Linked DNA regions of Homo sapiens: region 2 is linked to region 1. The links are contacts of gene promoters, found by promoter capture Hi-C in blood cells and fetal thymus (Javierre and others, 2016). All regions are on one chromosome and are shown on one strand. The core of a region is centred on a gene start or on the middle of the fragment in contact, and the rest is flanking DNA. Distances in the headings are between cores, read along the strand shown. Region 1 holds the start of ASMTL (acetylserotonin O-methyltransferase like). Region 2 overlaps LINC03112 (long intergenic non-protein coding RNA 3112).

What was found. The method cuts DNA at HindIII sites, captures the fragments that hold promoters and counts their contacts. A CHiCAGO score of 5 or more calls a contact.
Region 2: a fragment that was not itself captured here is called in contact with the fragment with the promoter of ASMTL in region 1 in 2 of 17 cell types (total CD4 T cells and naive CD8 T cells); the score reaches 6.0 in total CD4 T cells.

What each region holds. Positions count from the first base shown.
Region 1 is chrX:1,450,519-1,454,741 of GRCh38, forward strand. ASMTL (acetylserotonin O-methyltransferase like) reads right to left here and starts at 2,391. Exons shown (of 13, transcript NM_004192.4): 1 at 2,230-2,391. The coding sequence starts at 2,322. The HindIII fragment of the contact is 27,509 bases long and covers 1-4,223 here.
Region 2 is chrX:2,579,267-2,583,489 of GRCh38, forward strand. The region is part of intron 1 of LINC03112 (long intergenic non-protein coding RNA 3112); the gene reads right to left. Among named protein-coding and RNA genes, the nearest start is that of LINC03112, 28 kb to the right of the region's middle. RefSeq lists an enhancer at 3,809-4,223. The HindIII fragment of the contact is 1,869 bases long and covers 1,193-3,061 here.

The DNA.
Region 1 (4,223 bases), core at 1,141-3,640:
ATCACACTCCCCTCCCCCATCACTAGGGCATCCTGGGTCACTCTCCCCTCCCCCATCCCTAGGGGCTCTGGGTCACTCTCCCCTCCCCCATCCCTAGGGGTTCTGGGTCACTCTCCCCTCCCCCATCCCTAGGGGTTCTGGGTCACTCTCCCCTCCCCCATCCCTAGGGGGTTCCGGGTCACACTCCCCAACCCCATCCCTAGGGGTTCTGGGTTACTCTCCCCTCCCCCATCCCTAGGGTTCCCGGGTTACTCTCCCCTCCCCCAACCCTAGGGGTCCCAGGTTACTTTCCCCACCCACATCCCTAGGCGGTACTGGATCACTCTCCCCTCCCCCATCCCTAGGGGTCCCGGGTCACTCTGCCCTCCCCCATCCCTATGGGTCCCGGGTCACTCTGCCCTCCCCATTCCTAGGGGGTCCTGGCTCACTCTCCCCTCCCCCATCCCTAGGGGTCCTGGGTTATTCTCCCCTCCCCCATCCCTAGGGGTCCCGGGTCACTCTGCTTTCTCCATTCCTAGGGGGTCCTGGGTCACTCTCCCCTCCCCCATACCTAGGGATTCCGGATCACTCTCCCCTCCCCCATCCCTAGGCGGTCCTGGATCACTCTCCCCTCCCCATTCCTAGGGGGTCCTGGGACACTCCTCCCTCCCCATCCCTAGGGGGTCCTGGGACACTCCTCCCTCCCCATCCCTAAGGGGGTCCCAGGTCACTCTCCCCAACCCCATGCCTAGGGCGTCCTGGGTTACTCTCCCCACCCCCATCCCTAGGGGGTCCTGGGTTACTCTCCCCTTCCCCATCCCTAGGTGGTCCTGGGTCACTCTCCCCTCCCCATTCCTTGGGGGTCCCGGGTCACCCTTCCCTCCCCCATCCCTAGGGGGTCCTGGGTCACTCTCCCCAACCCCATGCCTAGGGGTTCCAGGTCACTCTCCCCTCCCTCATCCTTTTGGGTCCCGGGTTACTCTCCCTACCCCCATCCCTAGGGGGATCCCGGCTTACTCTCCCCTCCCCCATCCCTAGGGGGTCCCAGGTTACTCTCCCATCCCCATTCCTAGGGGGTTCTGGGTCACTCCCTGCAACCCCATGCCTAGGGGTTTCGGGTCACTCTCCCCACCCCCATCCCTAGGGGGGTCCCGGGTCACTTGACCTCCCCATTCCTAGGGGTCCCGGGTTACTCTCCTCTCCCCCATCCCTAGGGGTCCCGGGTTACTCTCCCCACCCCCATCCCTAGGGGGGTCTCGGCTTACTCTCCCTATCCCCAACCCTGGAGGTCCCGGGTTACTCTCCCCATCCCCATGCCTGGGGGTCCCGGGTTACTCTCCCCATCCCCATCCATGGGGCTCCGGGGTCACTCTGCTGTCCCCATCCCTAGCGGTCCTGGGTCACTCCTCCCTCCCCATCCCTAGGGGGTCCCGGGTCACTCTCCCCAACCACATGCCTAGGGCGTCCTGGGTTACTCTCCCCACCCCCATCGCTAGGGGGTCCCAGGTTACAGGTTACTCTCTCCAACCCCATCCCTAAGGTGTCCCGGGTTTCTCTCCCCTCCCCCACCCCTAGGGGGGTCCCGGGTTACTCTCCCCTCCCCCATCCCTAGGGGGTCCTGGGTCACTCTCCCCAACCCCATCCCTAGGGGTCCCGGGTTATTCTCCCCAACCCCATTCCTGGGGGTCTCGGCTTACTCTCCCCATCCCCATGCCTGGGGGTCCCGGGTTACTCTCCTCTCCCCCATCCCTAGGGGTCCCGGGTTACTCCCCCACCCCCATCCCTAGGGGGGGTCTCGGCTTACTCTCCCCATCCCCAACCCTGGAGGTCCCGGGTTACTCTCCCCATCCCCATGCCTGGGGGTCCCGGGTTACTCTCCTCATCCCCATCCATGGGGCTCCGGGGTCACTCTGCTGTCCCCATCCCTAGCGGTCCTGGGTCACTCTACCCTCCCCATTCCTAGGGGTCCCGGGTTACGATCCCCTCCCCCATCCCTATGGGGACCCAGGTCACTCCCCACCCCCATGCCTAGGGGGTTCCGGGTTACTCTCCCCTCCCCCATCCCTAGAGGTTCCGGGTCACTCTCCCCAACCCTATCCCTGGAGGTCCCGGGACACTCTCCCCTCCCCCATCCCTAAGGGTCTCGGGTCACTCTCCCATCCCTATCCCTAGAGTTCCTGAGTCGCTGGGCCCTCCGGGGTTCAGCCCCTCCGTCCCCGGTCCCCTGCCCCGCCCAGGCCCAGGCCGTACCGCGTTGCTGAGGATCTCCTGACGGCGTGGGGAGGCGCTGGCCAGCACCACGCGCTTGTGCAGCAGCTTCCCAATCACCGGGCACAGCACCATGGCGTCCACGCCGGGAGCCGGGCGTCCGCACTTCTGAGCCCGGAGCCCGCGGTGCGCGCAGCGCGGCTGCAAAAAAAACAGGCGGCCAGAGTCCCGCCTCCGCGAGGCCACGCCCCCGCCCGCCTCCGCGAGGCCACGCCCAGTCCGCGCCTTCAGTGGCCTCCCCGCGAGACCGCGCCCAGGCCACGCCTCCATTGAACACTCCGTCAGGCCTCGCCCAGGCCACACCTCCATTGCCCTCTCCACCAGGCCACGCCCATGTCACGCCCCATTGATCTCCCCTGAGACCACGCCCAGACCACGCCTCCATTGCCCTCTCCGTCAGGCCACGCCCAGGCCACACCTCCATTGCCCTCTCCGCCAGGCCACGCCCATGTCACGCCGCCATTGACCGCTCCGCCAGGCCACGCCCAGGCCACACCTCCTTGCCCTCTCCGCCAGGCCACGCCCATGCCACGCCGCCATTGAGCTCCCCGTGAGGCCACGCCCAGGCCACACCCCCGCCCGCCTCCCCCCCGGGCACCGCCCCGGCCGCTTGGTGAAGCACCGCCCCCAGCTCCGCCTCCCGGGCCCCGTCCCCGCCCCCGGCGCTCGCCCCGCCCCTCCCCACCCCGCCTGCGGCGCCAAGACCTGCAATGGCGCAGGCAGCTGCGGGGTCCCGGGGAGGAAAGGCTGGCGTGGATACTTGGGGTTCCTTGCAGGCGCGGCGTGGGGAGTGGAAATGCTGGGTTTCCGCAGCTGCGGTTGTGGGCAGTTGTGGGGGTGGGGGGTTCTTACCCGCACGTGGAGGGGCCCGGCGCAGAGATGGGGGTCTTGTGGGAGCCGCGTCGGGGAAGGTAGAGATAGGGGGTTCCCCGCGGACCCGGTGCGAGTGGCGTGGGGATGGGGATGTCCTCGTGCCTGGTGGGAGGGGAGTGGAGATGGGGGTGTCCACGGGCCTGGTGGGAGGGGCGTGGAGATGGGGGTGTCCACGGGCCTGGTGGGAGGGGCGTGGAGATGGGGGTGTCCACGGGCCTGGTGGGAGGGGCGTGGAGATGGGGGTGTCCACGGGCCTGGTGGGAGGGGCGTGGAGATGGGGGTGTCCACGGGCCTGGTGGGAGGGGCGTGGAGATGGGGGTGTCCACGGGCCTGGTGGGAGGGGCGTGGAGATGGGGATCCCCGCGGGGATGGTGGGAGGGGTTTGGAGATGAGGGTCCCCGCGAGAATGCTCGGAGGGGTATGGATATGGGGGTCCCCGCGGGCCGGGTGGGAAGGGCGGGGAGATGGGTGGGGGGGGGGTCCCCGCGTGCCTGGTGGGAGGGGCGTGGAGAAGGTGGGGGTCCTTGTGGGAGGGGCGTGGACACTGGGGATCCGCGCGGGCGTGGTGATGGGCGCGGCGTGGGGACCCCCTGGGGGCGCGGTGCTGGGGGCGCAGGGATGGGACCAGGGCGGGCGCTGTGAGGTGGGGGACGCCCGGCTGTGCCTTCCCTCCCTAAACGGAGCCCACCTCCAGGGCAGCGGGTCCCTTGCGCGCCGCAGGCTGCAGGGGGCGCGCGTGAGCTGTGCGAGGATTTTTCTTAAACCCCAGAGCCCAGCCGCACCTGCTCCACATAAACCCAGCGTGGCGTGGAGACTCCGGGCACTGTTTCCCCAGCCTTTGTGACTCAAAAGATTTTAAAATAAAATGTCAAAAATAATAATATACCCAGAGCCTATGCCAGTGATGTGTAGATGCAGAAAATGGAATCCTACAGTTAATTTTGTTAACTGTGGAATGACATCCGAGGGTGTCCAACACATTACGGAGAAAACGAAAAACTGTAGTCAGAGAAGTCACAGAAGAGCCAAATAAAAGAGAGGAAAAAAGCATCTAAACCATGTGATGTCTGATTTTCAATATTGTGAGTTTTTGAAAAAAAATT
Region 2 (4,223 bases), core at 877-3,376, 1.1 Mb after region 1:
ATGTTGGCCAGGCTGGTCTGGAACTCCTAACCTCAGGTGATCTGCTCGCCTCGGCCTCCCAAAGTGCTGGGATTATAGGTGTGAGCCACTGTGTCCGCTCCCTCTCCCTGCTTTTTTTTTTTCTTATAGAGTCTCACTATGTTGCCCAGGCTGGTATCAAACTGCTGGGCTCAATCGATCCTTCCACCTTGGCCTCCCAAAGTGCTGGGATTACAGTCGTGAGCCGCTGTGCTCACCCTGTCCTTAATGATCAGCTTGAGAAAATTCTCTCTCATCTAGTTGACCACGTCCCCCTCTCATCACTGCCACCAAATGTCCCTCATTATGGTGTCTAGATGTTTTGTCTTGCTACATCTCAAGCTTCATTACAGATCGAATTTACCCTCTTCCCTCAACTCTTCTTGCACAGAAGCTGAGGTTTCCAGGAGGCCCTCTCTACCCCTTGGGGGACCTTCCCCTTAAGTTTGGAAGCTGCCAAAACCATGTAAAGGAGATTTTAGGAGGGTCTTTGCACTATATGGGATCCCAAGAAAAATGCATTTAGGGCCACTTTTTCAGCAGCTTCGCTTTAAGGTTCATTTTTTTTTTTTTTAAGACTCATAAAAATCTTTACAGTTTGGAACACATAAAATATATTGACTGGACGCGGTGCCTCACACCTGTAATCCCAGCACTTTGGGAGCCCGAGGTGGGTGGATCACTTGAGGTCAGGAGTTCGAAACCAGCCTGGCCAACATGATGAAATGCCGTCTCTACTAAAAAGTCCAAAAATTAGCTGGGCATGGTGGCTCAGGCCTGTAGTCCAAGCTACTCGGGAGGCTGAGGCATGAGAATTGCTTGAGCCCAGAAGGTGGAGGTTGCAGAGAGTCAAGATTGCACCATTGCACTCTAGCCTGGATGACAGAGCCAGACTCTGTCTTTAAAAAAAAAATACATAAAAAGTTTTAAAAATGGAAACCTGTGTGAGCAGTGTCTAGAAACAGATAATTAGCAGTTATTCTGTAATCAATTTTTTAAAAACTTTAAAGAGAATGATTAATTTTAAACCCTAAAGGAGAGTTGCAAGTAGAAATATAATTTAAAACTTTTGTGTAATATCACTGCAATGGATGTGAGATTTTACACACACACACACACACACACACACACACACCCCATAAACACACATGTGTGCCACAGGTCCGTTGGTAAAAGCTTGGTTACTGATGATTGAGTTTTTTTCTTTTATTCTTGGGGAAGTTACATAACCTGTTTTTTTCCAGCCTTATTTTTCCATTCTGTGTAATTGGGATACTAATTATATTCATGTTGCTGTCAGGAGGGTAAAATACAATGTATATAATATTATTTTCACTCCAGATCTGGTGTTTAGTAAAACACTCAGCAACTATTAGGTGTAATTGTTATTTATAGGAAACTGTAGGTCTTTTGACAGTAATCATAACCACCCTTGCATGTGTGGGTTGTCCATAGAAAATTAAGATAATAGCGCAGAGGTTTCTGTCTCATCATGCTCTTCCCAGCTTCACTGAGATTGTCCTTTTTTCCAGTCAGGGCTTATCTTTCTAGGTTCCAGGAAAGCATCCTGAGGGATCATGCTGCTGTTTTAATACTCATATCTTCTTTAGGTGTGAAATACCCAAACGGGCCAGGAGCAGTGGCCCACACCTGTCATCCCAGCACTTTGGGAGGCTGAGGTTGGAGGATCACGAGGTTAGGAGTTTGAGACCAGCCTGGCCAACATGGGTGAAACCCCATCTCTACTAAAAATACAAAAATTAGCCAGGCATGGTGGCACGTGCCGGTAATCCCAGCTACTCAGGAGGCTGAGGCAGGAGAATCGCTTGAACCTGGGAGGCAGAGGTTGTAGTGAGCCGAGACTGCGCCACTGCCCTCCAGCCTGGGCGACGGAGCAAGACTCCATCTCAGAAAAAAAAAAAAAAAAAAAGAAAAGAAAAGAAAAGGAAAAAAGAAAGAAAAGAAATACCCAAATGGTCACCATGATCTAAGCACTCCCTTGGAGAACTGATGGATGTCAGTGTGCACTGATGGACATAAAACAGGACCACAGAGAAGAGTCACACTTGTAGAAAGAAATGCCCCCCAATCTCTAGCCAAAAGCTCCAAGTGGGAGTCTGTGTCACTTCCAGTGACAACTCTGCACTGACTCACTGCGTGACCTTGGGCAAGAAGCACTTCTACCTGCCTTGGTTTGTGGACCTGAAACAGGGATGTTAGCACCAACCTGGCATCTTCCCAGGACAGTGGCGCAGATCTGGAGGAACACCTCACGGGAAGGTCTTTTGTAGATCACACAGGAGGCTACACAGACATGAGTTACTGTGATTTCCTTTTGTCTAAAGGTTTCTTTCTGGTTCTAGCCTTGTCTATCTGGGGGAAGGAGACTATCTGTGATGGAGATGAGCGTTCTTTTCCAAGAGCGTTAATTAGCTGTTCACTTTGTGACTTCGTGAGCGCCCTACCATTTGAATTCTGAATCCCTGCGTTTTGTTCTCATTTGGTGATGAGCCTTTCAGCAGACATGGTAGTGACTATTAAGTAGGCATTTTAATGCAATCGTTCATAGAATCAATATGTAGACGGCTAGTTTCTAATTTATGAGAAGGCATTCTCTGGGAAATTGAATAAACAGTGCTCGATTGGAATATGGAAATTTTATATAAGAAAAATAATCCGAGAGAGGCTGAGAATGTACAAGCTCTAAGGAATCATCAGATGTGAACAGGACTTCAGCTATCATGTTTAGGGTGAGCTTCGTTAGTGGCTCACATCTAGTTTCAGCTGCAACTGTATTTTCATATCGTTCCCAGGCAAGCCCCGCGAGTGACTGACTCCACGACCCTGTTTCTTCCCAAACCCTCACCTGAGAAACAGGCTTCTTGGATTAAATCTTCCTTTTCCTATTCGACTAGCCCGGTGGGTTTGTGCTTGGCGTAACTTTGGGCCCCCTGGGTGGGATGTGCTTGCGTGAAGCTCCAGTAGCTTTTCCTCTGTGCCGGGAATAATTTGCAAAGCGTCCTATTTTGGATTTTCATAATCAAGCTTCTACCCCGTTTCTTTTCAGTTAATTTAATACCTGGAGCACACGCAGTACTTCAAAAATATTGGTCCGTTCTGGTGTCAGAGAGTCTTTTTGGACTGAGATGTAAAAGTCCTACATTTGGGTATGTGAGCTGGGAGTTGGGGGGCCAGGCTGAGGAGAAGCAACAAATTCCAGAGACAAACTTGGCATCTTGGGAGATGTAATACACGCACCCAGCCACAGAGTCCCAGGAGAATGTATTTTAATGGAGAATGTGGAGGGACTTTGCAAATGTTTTCATTTTCTCAAATCATATCTGTTATCCTGAAAGTGGTGTCTGTTCCCCCTAACGCCCCCCCGCTCCCTCCCCAACCCTTTGCAGACACTGGCATCTGTGGACATGAGTTAGGTGCTGCAGTACCACTCACTGTGTCAACTACAGTATTAACTACGGAAAACACACACACAGTCACAGTCACACTGACACTCACACCCTAACCATCCCAAATCAGACATTTGCAGTCCCACGGGATTTCCAAAGATTCCCCGGACAAGCAATCTATAGATTATCCTGGGACCAGAAAAAAAAAAGTCCTAGGATTTTTAGTTTCCTTAACCCTCAAGTGGCTGGAAACTGTTAATCAGAGAGGAATGAACATAAATAACACCAAGCCGAGCTCCGTCTGATCCGAAGTGAGCCCCCAAACAGCTTCTGTCTGCCCTGATTACCAAAGGAAGCCATGCCCACGCATAAATTGGCAGTCTATTTAAACTGGGTGTTCTTCCTCACAGTTTTTTTTTTTTCCCAGAGAAATATTCAAAGGCAGGCATTTTTCTGGCTAAGAAGATATTTATTTAAGTCACAGATTGCTTCACCTTCCCAAACTTGCCCGGCACACTTGGTGTAGGGCAAAGCCTCATCCTTGTCACATCTGTCCCTCTCCCCTCTGGAGCAGGGGCCAGAGGACTTTGGAGGACACCTACTCCCCCCACCCCCAAGGCTTCGGCTTCCCAGGGGGGGCTTGGCAGTGTGAGAAAGGCAAACCGCCTTCCGACCTGGTTGAAATTTTGTTTCCCATTGCTCCCTAGAGGTGTCCCTTGGCCGTGGATAACGCTCACTCTGTTCCTAGCCTCGCGCTCACCGTGTTTGTCCATGGAGGTTATAGGGAACTTGAGTGCG